Linked DNA regions of Homo sapiens: regions 1 and 3 are each linked to region 2. Evidence: promoter capture Hi-C in human tissues and cell types (Jung and others, 2019). All regions are on one chromosome and are shown on one strand. The core of a region is centred on a gene start or on the middle of the fragment in contact, and the rest is flanking DNA. Distances in the headings are between cores, read along the strand shown. Region 1 has its middle 57 kb from the start of PNRC1-DT. Region 2 holds the start of RRAGD (Ras related GTP binding D). Region 3 has its middle 5.4 kb from the start of PNRC1-DT.

Evidence for each region. The method cuts DNA at HindIII sites, captures the fragments that hold promoters and counts their contacts. A contact is called where the count stands out against the background at its distance.
Region 1: a fragment that was not itself captured here is called in contact with the fragment with the promoter of RRAGD in region 2 in 2 of the 25 tissues and cell types used here (H1 embryonic stem cells and bladder).
Region 3: a contact is called between a fragment that was not itself captured here and the fragment with the promoter of RRAGD in region 2, in 2 of the 25 tissues and cell types used here (heart left ventricle and hippocampus).

What each region holds. Positions count from the first base shown.
Region 1 is chr6:89,021,905-89,025,932 of GRCh38, reverse strand. No RefSeq gene overlaps it. Among named protein-coding and RNA genes, the nearest start is that of PNRC1-DT, 57 kb to the left of the region's middle. RefSeq lists an enhancer at 3,760-4,028. The HindIII fragment of the contact is 6,267 bases long and covers 1-4,028 here.
Region 2 is chr6:89,409,913-89,413,907 of GRCh38, reverse strand. RRAGD (Ras related GTP binding D) reads left to right here and starts at 1,635. Exons shown (of 7, transcript NM_021244.5): 1 at 1,635-2,062. The coding sequence starts at 1,915. RefSeq lists silencers at 1,219-2,408, 2,439-2,548, 2,579-2,678. The HindIII fragment of the contact is 6,593 bases long and covers 1-3,995 here.
Region 3 is chr6:89,073,050-89,077,389 of GRCh38, reverse strand. No RefSeq gene overlaps it. Among named protein-coding and RNA genes, the nearest start is that of PNRC1-DT, 5.4 kb to the left of the region's middle. The HindIII fragment of the contact is 5,757 bases long and covers 1-4,227 here.

The DNA.
Region 1 (4,028 bases), core at 874-3,373, 390 kb after region 2:
TCAAGAGGTTAAGTTACTTGCTTAACATCCTGGCTAGCAAACAGAGGAGTCAGGATTTGAAAGAAGGTGTGACCCAATTACTATGCTGTACTGATAAAAGGAAAACTGAAGGAGAAGGGCATGCCAGGACAAGGAAGCAGTATATTAAAAGGCCTAGAAGCTGGAAGAGCACGGAGCCTTTGAGGTATAACTGGGGTGAGGAAGTGATGGGAGGAAGAAGGGAAGACAAAGTTGGGAAGGGAGACAAGGGCTGGATGGTGATGGACTCCTGGGAGAAGGGTTCCTGTAGACAATGGGGAATCTCTAAAGGATTTTAGAAAGGTGAGACTGCCGGGTGTGGTGGTTCAATGGCTGTAATCCCAGTGCTTTGGGAGGCCAAAGTGGGAGGATTGTTTGAGCTCAGGAGTTGAAACCAGGCTCAGCAGCATACGAGACCCTGTCTCTACAAAAAATAAAATATTAGTCTGGTATGGTGGCATGCACCTGCAGTCCCAATTATTCGAGAGGCTGAGGTGGGTCATTTGAGCCCAGGAGTTAGAGGCTGCAGTGATCTTGCCACTCTACTCCAGCCTGGGCAACAGAAAGAGACCCTGTCTCAAAAAAAAAAAAAAAAAAAAATTCAAAATATAAAAGAGGCTGGGTGTGGTGGCTCACACCTGTAATCCCAGCACTTTGGGAGGCCGAGGCGGGTGGATCACCTGAGGTCAGAAGTTCGAGACTAGCCTGGCCAACATGGCAAAACTCTGTTTCTACTAAAAAATACAAAAATTAGCTGGGCGCAGTGACTCATGCCTGTAATCCCAGCACTTTGGGAGGCCCAGGCGGGCAGATCACAAGGTCAGGAGATTGAGACCATCCTGGCCAACATGGTGAAACCCCGTCTCTACTGAAAATACAAAAATTAGCCGGGTGTGGTAGCGGGTGCCTGTATAGTCCCAGCTACTCGGCAGGCTGAGGCACGAGAATTGCTTGAACCCGGGAGGCAGAGATTGCAGTGAGCTGAGATCACGCCACTGCACTCCAGCCTGGCAACAGAGCAAGACTGTCTCAAAAGAAAAAAAAAAATTAGCTGGGTGTAGTGGTGGGGTCTTATAATCCCAGTTACTCGGGAGGCTGAGGCAGGAGAATCTCTTGAACTTGGGAGGCAGAGGTTGCAGTGAGCCAAGATCATACTACCACTGCACTCCAGCCTGGGTGACAGAATGAGACTCCATCTAAAAATAAAAGGGAGAGAGATGGAGGGAGACAAATTCCTGGTGATGTCATTTGAAGCCCTGGATATAGCCATACTTGAAGTCAACCCACTGGGCCCTGGACTTTCCAGGAATATAAGTGCATAAATTCTCTTTCTCTTTTTATTTTTGTTTATCTTGTTTTGGTTTGTTTATATTTTTGCTTGAGTTGGTTTGCATTGGGATTCTACCACTTGCATTTGAAAGTTTCCTAAAGAATGCGGTGGCACCACATGGTCTGGCCCCTTCCTGCCTGTACCCACTGTTCCCTTGATCTCTGTGCTCCAGCAAACTTGGCTTTCTTTCAGTCACTTAGAAATGCCTGGGGATCCTCTGCCATAACTGCTTTGCATATACTACTGCCCTGCCTGGAACATTCTTCCTCCCTCTTTGCCCAGTTAACTCTTACTCATCTTCCAGGTTGCTGCCTAAGGTCATTCTAATAGCTTGTTACAAGGTGGCCCCTGATGAATTCCATCTTCCAGTATTCATGCCCTTGTGTGATAGTCCCCTCTCCTGAACTCTGGGTGGACTGATTTAACCAGTGGAATTCAGCAGATATGATGCTGTGTCAGTTCCAAGCCTAAGCCTTAGGAAAGGCTGGCAGCTTCTATTTTTGTGCTCTTGGAAGGCTTGAGCCAACATATTAAAGGTCTGATTATCCTGCTGGAGAGACCAAATGGAAAGATTACATGAGAGAATCCCAGCTGTGGCCTAGCCTAAGTGCCAGCTGGATGCAGCCTCCTGAGTGACCACTGACAAGACCAGAGAAACTGACCATCTGAGCCCAGCCCGAATTACAAAATTGTGTGCAAATAAAGTGGTTCCTCTCTATATCTCTTTTGTCTTCTTTAAGCTTGTTACTTTGTGCTATTATGTTTTAGGGTAGTTTGTTGTGCAATATTAGATAAGGGAAAGAGTCACTTCAAGAAAACTCCTCTGGCCGGGCACAGTGGCTCACACGTGTAATCCCAGCACTTTGGGAGGCCAAGGTGGGAGGATCTCTTGAGTCCAGGAGTTCAAGACCAGCCTGGGCAACATGGAAAGACCCCGTCTCTACAAAACATACAAAACTAGCTGGGCATGGTGGCATGCACTGGTAATCCCAGCTACTCAGGAGGCTGAGGTGGGAGGATTGATTGAGCTCCGGAGTTGGAGGCTGCAGCGAGCCGAAATCACACCACTGCACTCCAGCCTGGGTGCTAGAGCCAGACCCTGCCTGGAAAAAAAAAAACAAGAAAACTCCTCTAACACTCCTAGACCAAGTCAATCCCATTGCAGACATTTTCACAGGAAAAAAGACATGATCATAGTACTGTGCACATTTCCTTTAGAACACTTATTACAATTCACAGTTGTTTGTAGCTTTAACTCAAGAATGACTTTTCTTTTCAGGGTCCCTTTTCTGTGATAAACTCAATAATTTCAGGAGTATTTATCCAACCTTAAGACATCAGTCTTTATTGTGGTTGGAAAGTTAGGTCTGTCTGCCAAAGGACCCAGTTCTCTGCTTCCATTCCTGCTGAATCTGCTGCTGATCCTCCAAATGCAGGTTCAGTAGAAATTGTAGCACAAAAGTTTCTCACAGAAAAGGTCCCAGAGGGCTCCCTTCCCCCTCCTAATTTGTGAGTCTGCTCTTAAGCATTTAGGCACCATTAATAGGAAAACTAGATTTTAAAAGATTCATGGTGCATGGTTTACAGTATTCAGATTTACATAGCAGGTTCTTCCAAATTACACTTAGGGGAATAAATCAGTGACTAACTTTGGCAATCTCACAAAGCACAGAGCCTTCCAGTTTTAAAGGTTTTTGCTGGTGAGTCATTAAGTTAAAAAAGGAAATCTATATTGGTGATAAATCTTTGTAGAAGTACTCTATGTTCTGCTAAAATTGATTGTTTCTAGGTGGCTACTTCAACTAATATTATGAAAAGAATAGATTTCTGTTGTAATACAAAATGATACTTTCTGAGAAATTGTTCCTAGTCTTGCTTTTTTTAAAAAAAAAGTTGGCACAGGAGATTTATTACAGAGGGTACTTCCAGAGGACCAGAACTTTTAATAAATTGATTCTGTGGTTATTTTCATTGTTTAACATTATTGATCATACACATTCACCAGATTAGAAATTTGCGGTTGCTGTACTTGTGGGGAGATGGCATGGTGGAGACCTAAACTTTATGTAGGTTAGAGCTTACTCTACTGGCAGTCCACAGCTTCAACCATGGTGAGTGAAGACAAAGGAGGATTCCTGAACCCCATCCTCTCCCTCAGGCTGTCTTCTCCCACCCTCCACACACTCCATCACAAAGACCTACATAAGCTTTCTCTCTAGTCGTCACCTCCTCTCCTTTTCCATGTACGCTGCTTTAGTTCAGGCTCTTGTCAATTTGACCTTCAGACTTTTGCTGTGTTCTCATGGATGGTATTCTTGCCTTTAGTCTCAACTTCCAAATCCATCTTCCACCACACTTCTGCAGTGACTGGCTACTTCCTTTCTTAAAACCCTTCAATGATGCATTGTTTCTGCAAGAGAGGTCCTTAACCTATGGTCCACAGATATTTAGCAGACATATGGACAAATGAACTCTCTAAAGTAGTGTAGATGAATGACATGAATACATCTATTTCCCAGGAGAGGGCCTGTAGTTTTCATTACACTCTCAAAAAGGCCTGTGTCTCAAAAAGAGGGAAGAACCACTGGCCTATAGGTGGAAAAACCAGTTCCTTGGCATGTCACATGATTATCAAAAGGGTGGAGGTGAAAAGATGCTGCAAACGCCACAGGCAAAAGGT
Region 2 (3,995 bases), core at 386-2,885:
TCTCTCCTTGATGTGAGGCCGTTCTGGCAGCAGCAGCTTCCTCATCAGTTACAGCTCCTGTTTTGTGGCCCCTCTCCAGGACTCTAGCTCCCTTCCTCACTCCTGTAAATTTAGGGGTGGTGTTATCTTCCCACTATCGCTAATACCTGCATTGATTCCCTAAACTCTGTCCACACCCCTGTAAATTGTTCCTTCACTTGAAGGCTTCAGTTAAAGTCTTTGCACATACCGTCTGTTTCATCCTGGGAAGAACCTTAACTGATACAGTCATACCAAATTATACTGCCTGCCTCCCTTGGAAAATCTCAGGACCTTTCCCATTAGAAGCAGCCACCTTCTGGAAAGTGTCTGCATCCACCTTCTGCACTCAGAAATACTAAAAAAAATCCAGGACATGAGTCATGATTTGGTAGACTGTGAGCTCCTTCAGGGCAGGAACACTGCCCTGAGCATTCTTGGACCCTCTACTTAGCCCAGCCTCAGGCATATAGGAGGTGGTTAATAAATGTTTCCTATGGAGGTTAGCACCCTTGGGCCCTGAGAGTCTCCTGCCCTAGCTTCCTCCCTCCGCTTCTGCACCGCACCACCGGCTGAGCTGCTGGCACCTGTAGGAGCTGGATCATCATGCTGACCGGCCGGTTTTTTCTTATTGTGCTCCACAGAAGGAAGTTCATCCACGTAATTTTTTGCAGTACCCAGAAAGGGTGGGTACAGTGTGTTCCGTGGTGAAAAGCTTGTGAAGGAGGAATGCAGGTTTTAGAGTCTCACTCCACGTTGCTGCTATTCCTATTTGAGAATTGCCCCCCCACCACCGCCACTCCCCTACTCCCACAAAAGCCTTGAAATATTTTATTCATGTGGGATTACAGTCTATGCAACAATGAGACATGAGGAGGTGGCCATGAATAGCCCCCGAGTGTGTTATACACTGAGACCTTTTCCAAAGGGCTGCAGAGGAATTATTTAGTCTAAGCAGCCACGAGTCATGTGATTTCTTCAGAAACATTTACGTCTGGGTAGGCCTGCTTTTTAAATATTCTTGGTGGGAAGCACTTTGAACCATAAAGGCACACTAAAAGACAATTGCTATGGAGACTGCGCCTCCACTGTGCATTTATCTGAGTTCTCCGCCTGGGGCTCTTGAGCGTCCACAGGGTGTCCTGGGCACGCTGCTCTGGGGTGGGGGATCTGGGCGCCACAGTGTTGGGAGGCCACCCGCTTGGGACCCTAGCTCAGGACTGTAAGCAGGAGGCATCCGCCCACGGTAGACGCTCTGCGGGCGTGTGGGAGTGGGACGGCGGGGGGGACATTGAGGGTGTGCGGCGCCCCCTCCCCTGCCTGTGCGGGGACCACGTGAAGGAGAGGCGCGTGGGGGCCCCTGGCGCGCAGCCGCGGTGGGTGACGGCCGGCGTCCCGGGGGCCCCGTGTACGGGGCGTGTGTCGGTGTGAGTCTGGGAGGGTGCAGGGGCCCCGCGCCTCCCCGGTCTCCTCGTGCGTGTGCGTGTGCGTGTGCATGTGTGTCCTCGGCCCAGCGCCCCGCCGAGTGGTGCCCGCGGCCGGGCGAGCGCGCGCGCGCCCGTGCGGGGTGTGTATGTGAGTATGTGACAGTGTGTGTCAGGTGACTCGGGTCACGCAGTCTCTCTCTCTCTCCCTCCTCCGGGAGGAACTGCCGCGCTCCGGCTGACTCCTCCGCCGGCGGGCGGGGCGGGGGAGGGGGCTTCGGGCGCGCTGGGAACCGCGGGACCCGGACCTGGGCGCCGCCCGCCGGGGGACGCGCGGCCCCCGCTTCCGCCGGGCCCCGCTGAGCTCTAGACAAACCTCCGCTTCAGAAATAGGCTGCGGGCGGCCGGCTAGGAGGCTTGGCCCCCACCCCGGGACCCCCGCCGTCCCCGGGCCGGCCGGCCGGTGGGCACGATGAGCCAGGTGCTGGGGAAGCCGCAGCCGCAGGACGAGGACGACGCGGAGGAGGAGGAGGAGGAGGATGAGCTGGTGGGGCTAGCGGACTACGGAGACGGGCCCGACTCCTCCGACGCCGATCCGGACAGCGGCACAGAGGAGGGAGGTGAGCGCCCGGCCCCCGCGTCCTCGGCTCGCGCCCCTTTCCTCCCCTTGGCGCCTTCCCGCCCCCAGCCCGGCCGTGCGCGAGCCACCGACTTGGAGGGGGTCCAGGGGAGCGGGTCCAGTTGAGGGTTTGGGGTGGGGAGGGACGCCAAAAGCCCGACCTCGAGCTGCCAAATGAGGGAGCGCGGTGCTGGTGGCGGAGGGGCAACCAGGATCGGTGGAAAAGGGGAAGGAGGGAGTAAGCGTCTGGGCTGGAGGAGCGCGCGCTTCTGCCCCTTTCAGAGCCGGTGCCTCCCGCGCCCCTCACCCCAAGCTCTCCGCAGCGTCTGGCGGTTGGGGAGGGGAGGGGACCGCGGGCGCGCCCTGGGACCTCTCTCCCAGAACGGTGCTGTTGAAGCCAGGGTCAGATGTCGTGGCTAAAAAAAGGCAGCCGGCGGCGGCGTGACTGGCAGGGTCGTCGGCAGCTGCGGGTGTCAGTCTCGCCCCGCGTCGCCGCGGGAGGGGCCCACCCAGGTAGTGGCTGGGGAGACCCGCGGGGCGGCGGGGGGATGCTCGCCAAGCTGTTGTGGGAGTCTCCGAGAGGCCGCAGATTTCCCGGGATCCACGCAAACACCGTTGTCAGGACACCTTATCTGCTCTCGGTATCACCACCTGGACATGGCAGTGCCTGCCCGGGAGTGAGCGCGCGGCGGGGAATTCTTTGCTTCAATAGTGAAGCAAACTCTTTTTCCTGTTCTAGAAGCGGGTTTTAGCAATCGTTCAGCTTGTGGGGGCTTCCTGCATTTTCTTAAGGTGTAAGGAAGTTGAGAGCCTTTTAGTATTCCAGAGAGGTTAAACTTTTTTTAGTTTCCCTCAGAAGCGAGCAAAAGTTCCTTTACTGTAAGGTCACTTGGAAAGGTCAATAGAAAGCGGCTGTTAAACATGATGTTATTCTCAGTGAAACTGTATGCATCCAAGAGAAGGAACTAACTTTAATGTTTCACACTGAAGAAATTGTGTGAGAGATACAAGTACCTTTGTGACTATTGATTTTTAAAGAACTTTTATTGAGAATTCACTGAACTTATTTTAAATTCTCTATGCAAAGCTTTTCTCACTAGGGTAGTTTCATTATTCTACATCTGGCAGGCACGACTTTCAATGAATCAGAAAGGAAATAAAGTTAACTATGCCTTGCGCCTGGTAGATGAGAAAGCAGCCTCTCAAGTCACCCTTTTTCATAGCGTTTTCTCTCTTGGGATGATTTGTGCTAATTCCTCATTTGCTTAAACTGATGTGTGCACCTTTGTGCTTTCTGTCTTCTGCACTCCCGGTAATTGGTCTTACCGTTGAGCACCAGGCCACATTTTTGTAGATAAAGGCTTTCAGCCGTTTTATTGGAGTCTCTAGAGCTACCTTCCGTAATTAAATTGTTCAGTCGCCTCATTATTATTCAAATTCCATTTGTTAGCTCCTCCCAGATTCTTAGAAGACTCCGGAGAGATGCAGAATAGGGATGTATTTGCAAGGTATTTGAAATGGTGGACACAGTAGGGTGTGTGTGGGATTCTCTTTTTTAAAAAAGAAAAAAAGTGGGGGGGCGGAGGGGCCATATCCAGGAGGGAAAGCCCTGTAATTTGATACTGTCCTGAGGCCTGGAGGGTCCAGAAAAAGTACTGGACCCCTCGTTTATTCTGCAGTTCTTTAAGTGGGCACTTTTAAAATTTGATTTGGGGACTTGAAATTGAAGTGAAATTAAAGCCCTGCTTGAGGGATGGGATTCCCGGAACAAAGGGCTTCCCCAGAGCCCAGACTTGGAGGCTCCTTAGCTGTTAACGTAAAGGCAAACTTGCCTGTAACTGATTTTTGGTGACTCGCATAATAAAATCCTTCTGAATGGGCTTTTGGGATCAGCTTGGGATCTTGCTATAAAAGGATTAAATATATTTATATTG
Region 3 (4,340 bases), core at 100-2,599, 340 kb after region 2:
TGGGTAGTCTTTGTAAACCCTTAGTCTTTAGTAAAGTCTAATTTTAATGTTTAAACCTAAGCGTTACAGGTTTAAACATATAGTGTTAGCTGTGCTATATGATATAAAGGAAAAAGATCAGGCTGGGTGCAGTGGCTCACGGATGGCAAGGTGGATGGATCACTTGAGGTCAGGAGTTGGAGACCAGCCTGGCCAACATGATGAAACCCTGTCTCTACTAAAAATACAAAAATTAGCCAGTTGTGGTGGTGCATGCCTGTAGTCCCAGCTACTTGGGAGGCTGAGGCAGAAGAATCACTTGAACCTGGGAGGTAGAGGTTGCAGTGAGCCGAGATCACGCCACTGCACTCTAGCCTGGGCGACAGAGCAAGACTTCATCTCAGGGAAAAAAAAAAAAAAAAAAAAAATCAGATCCTTTTGCTTGGGCCCAAAAGGCCAAACTTGGAGGTAACAAGATATTCCAAGGGTAAAGGAAATTTTAGGAGAATTCTCAGAGTTCTTGAAGCTTTTTGCTCCAGTGTACATCTTGATTTTATTTTTGTTAAGCTAATCTTTAGAGGAGGTTAGAAGAAAAATAAAAGATTGGAAAGTAAACTAGGTATTAAATAGCAGAAAAAAGAGGTAATGCCCATTTATGAAATAAGCAGCTTACCCGCATTGACACTAAGCAGAACTCCAAATTCCACTTCTCTCTCTTCTATCTACCTTTGTCTCTCGTGTATTTTACCTCTGTCCTCTTTCTCTCCCTCTCTCTGTATGAAATGTCATTTTCTTTCCTCCTACCCTGAATGTCTTTTTTCCTCTTTATATAGACTTTATTACCATTTTTTCTACCTATTATTACTTAGATTTTTTTTTCTTTTTCTTTTTTGAGACAGGGCTTCACTCTGTCACCCAGGCTGGAGTGCAGTGGTGCGATAACAACTCACTGCAGCCTCCACCTCTGGCGTTCAGGAGATTCTCACACCTCATCCTCCCTAGCTGGCGCATGCCACCATGTCTGCTAATTTGTGTGTGTGCGTGTTTGATAGAGACAGGGTTTTGCCATGTTGCCCAAGCTGGTCTCGAACTCCTGAGTTCAAGTGATCCAACCACTTTGGCCTCCCAAAGTGCTGGGATTACAGGCATGAGCCACCTCACCCAGCCTATTGCTTAGATCTGTAATGTCTAAGGTGTGAGGGACACCTGTGTGAAAAGAGGAACACTTAATCAAACTTCTATTTTGCTTTTTTTTTTTTTTTAGACGGTGTCTCACTCTGTTGCCCAGGCTGAAGTGTAGTAGTGTGATCTCAGCTCGGCTCACTGCAACCTCCACCTCCCAGGTTCAAGTGATTCTCCTGCCCCAGCCTCCTGAGTAGCTGGGATTACAGGTGCATGCCACCATGCCTGGCCAATTTTTGTATTTTTAGTAGAGATGGGGTTTCACCATGTTGGCCAGGCTGGTCTCAAACTCCTGACCTCAGGTGACTCGCCCGCCTCAGCTTCCCAAAGTGTTGGGATTATAGGCGTGAGCCACTGCACCCGGCCTTCTGTTTTGCTTAATGCTCAAATTATTAATCTTTCAAATTTATAAAATAATAGTCTTCTAAACATAAAACAACCAGGAAATCAAAATGTTTTTGTTTAGCAAGTAAAAATTTTCCTAACATTTCAGCATTGATTACAAAACTTATTTTATAATGTACTCTGAAGAGTTTAAATAAAAATCTAAAATTTGTGTTAAAAAGCAAAATATGCACAAATTTTCACAATAATGACAAATTTATGACACTTGGAGTGCTTATAAAGTATTGTTACCATAGATTGAAATTAATGTCTCCATTATCCCTATACTTATATCTCTCTGGGGTTACAGGTTTGTACAGGTTATAATTTGCATGAGGGTACCTGGCCAAAGAGTCAAGGGAGAGCTGAAACAGAGCTTTGACTCTGCTCTTGAAGACATCTTCCCAAGGGCTGGGGCCATCTGGGCATCGCTATGATTTGAACGTTTGTGTCTTCCCCAGATTCCTATGTTGAAACCTAATAACCAGTGTGATAATGTTAGGACGTGGGGTCTTTGGGGAGTGATTAGGTCATCAGGTTGGAGCCCTCATGCATATGATTAGAGGCCACAGAGGCCCCTCCTCCTTATACCACTGAGGACACAGCAAGAAGTCTGCAGTCTGCAACCCAGAAGAGGGACCTCACCAGAACCTGACCAGCTGGCACCCTGATCTTGAACATCCCGGTCTCTGGAAGTGTGAGAAATAAATCTCTGTTGTTTGTTATCTACCCAGTTTATGATATTTTGTTTTAGCAGCCAGAATGGACTAAGGTGGCTTTTTCTTATTGGTATGAAGGTGTCAAAAGGACTAGTGGCAACCTTAGGGTACAATAATAATGATGGACATTTGATTCTATTTCAGCCTAGATATAAAACCAAAAGAAAAAGCGTGTCATGGCCGGGTGCAGTGGCTCACGCCTGTAATCCCAAAACTTTGGGAGGCCGAGGTGGGAGGATCACTTGAGCTCAAGAATTTGAGACCAGCCTGGGCAAAATGGCAAAACCCACAAAAATTAGCTGGATGTGGTGTTGCCCACCTGTCATCCCAGCTACTCAGGAGACTTGAGGTGGAAGGATGGCTTGAGCCCAGGAGGTCAAGGCTGCAGGGAGCCATAATTGCGCCACTGCAGTCTAGCCTGGGTGACAGAGTGAGACCCTGTTTCAAAAAAAAAAAAAAAAAAAAAAAATAGAAAAAGCATGTCATTTAGACCAGCTGATGTTTAACCAATTGCATCTTAGCTGGGTAACAGTCTCCATTATGCCTTCCTTACCTGAGCCTTGCTCTCATTGTATACATTGATCAAGCTTTTAAAAATCCTTGCCATTTGCAGAATGTATTTCTTTATTTAGTTTATGGAGATAGGGTCTTGCTCTGTTGACCAGGCTGGAGTGCAGTGGCACGATCGTAGCTCACTGTATCAAACTCCTGGGCTCAAGGAACCCTACCACCTCAGGTTCCTGAGTAGCTGGGACTACAGGCAAGTACCACCACACCTAGCTAATTTTTAAATTTTTTATAGAGACAGGGTCTTGCTTGTTGCCCAGGCTGGTCTTGAGCTTCTGGCCTCAAGCAGTTCTCCCACCAGTGCCTCCCAAAGCGCTGGCATAAGCCAATGCCCCTGGCCCTGCAGAACTTTTAATTTCTAGTAAATTGATGCCTCTCCCTGAAATACGGTGTATTTTTTCAAGTTTCAGTTGGCTAGCCTTGCAGAACCTAGTTTCTTATCATTATGTATTGACCTGGCCTGTTAACCATTTTTGTAGACTGATTTTGCCTCATTAACTTGTTATGATTAATAGAGTCATTGAAAGGGTTCATCATGCATGAGGCAGGGATAGAATGTGCAGTCAGCTGTCTTCTTCACGGCATTTGATTAGGCAAATCTTCATTTTGAAACACATTATTGAATTCTGTTTCTACATGGTCCTGTGTGACTCTGGTGCTGACTGACTATTGGATCTTCCTTCTGCCTGGCTGGTAGGTGTGACAGATGCTGTGGAGTAGTTCTTTCTGTTCTTGGTATGGTTAATTTTTTTCCCAGGACTGCTTGACTGATTCTCAGTTCCCGCTATTCTTCTCTCCCTTCTTTCACAAGGAAAGTCATGTCTGTGCTTTATAAACTAATATATGCTTTAGATTTTAAAAAAATCATCCATACACATAACTTTATTTCTGCAATTTTAAAAAAATTAACATCTATATTATCACATTCACTATCTTTTATAGTCAAACTGTTTATTACTAAATTTTCCCTTTGGAGAATCATTATGGACTTTAATAGATTCAAATAGTTTCAATTATCTATAATCATTTCCCTTTTTTTGCTCAAACCTTAGGGTGTAGCCAATGAAAGCCAAGATATTTCTATTGTAGCAGTCTTGTTGCCTGAAGTATTACCTGAGCTCCTTGTCTCACAACCAAGAAAATTAAGGAACGTGGACACCAAGAGTGAGGTGGGAGCAAAAGTTTAATAGGCAGAAGAGGAATGTTCTCCACAGCAGAGAGGGAGTCCGAGTGGGTTGCCGTTTTTACAGTTGAATACAAAGCTTTTGTAAGACACTCCTCTCTTCTCTGTAGCTGTTGTGTAACTTCCCTTATATGTGAAGCTGTCTGTGTAACTCCCCTTATCTGTGCAGCTGCAGACATGTCTTTAGGCAAACACAAAGCACAGCTTCTCATTTGTGCAACTGTGGATATGTTTTGGGTAAGCACCCCCACTCTCTGTACAAGTTCCCCTGGAGCCCACCGTGTACATGCCTGAAAAGGGGAGGAAACTTTTTCCTGGGAGCCAAC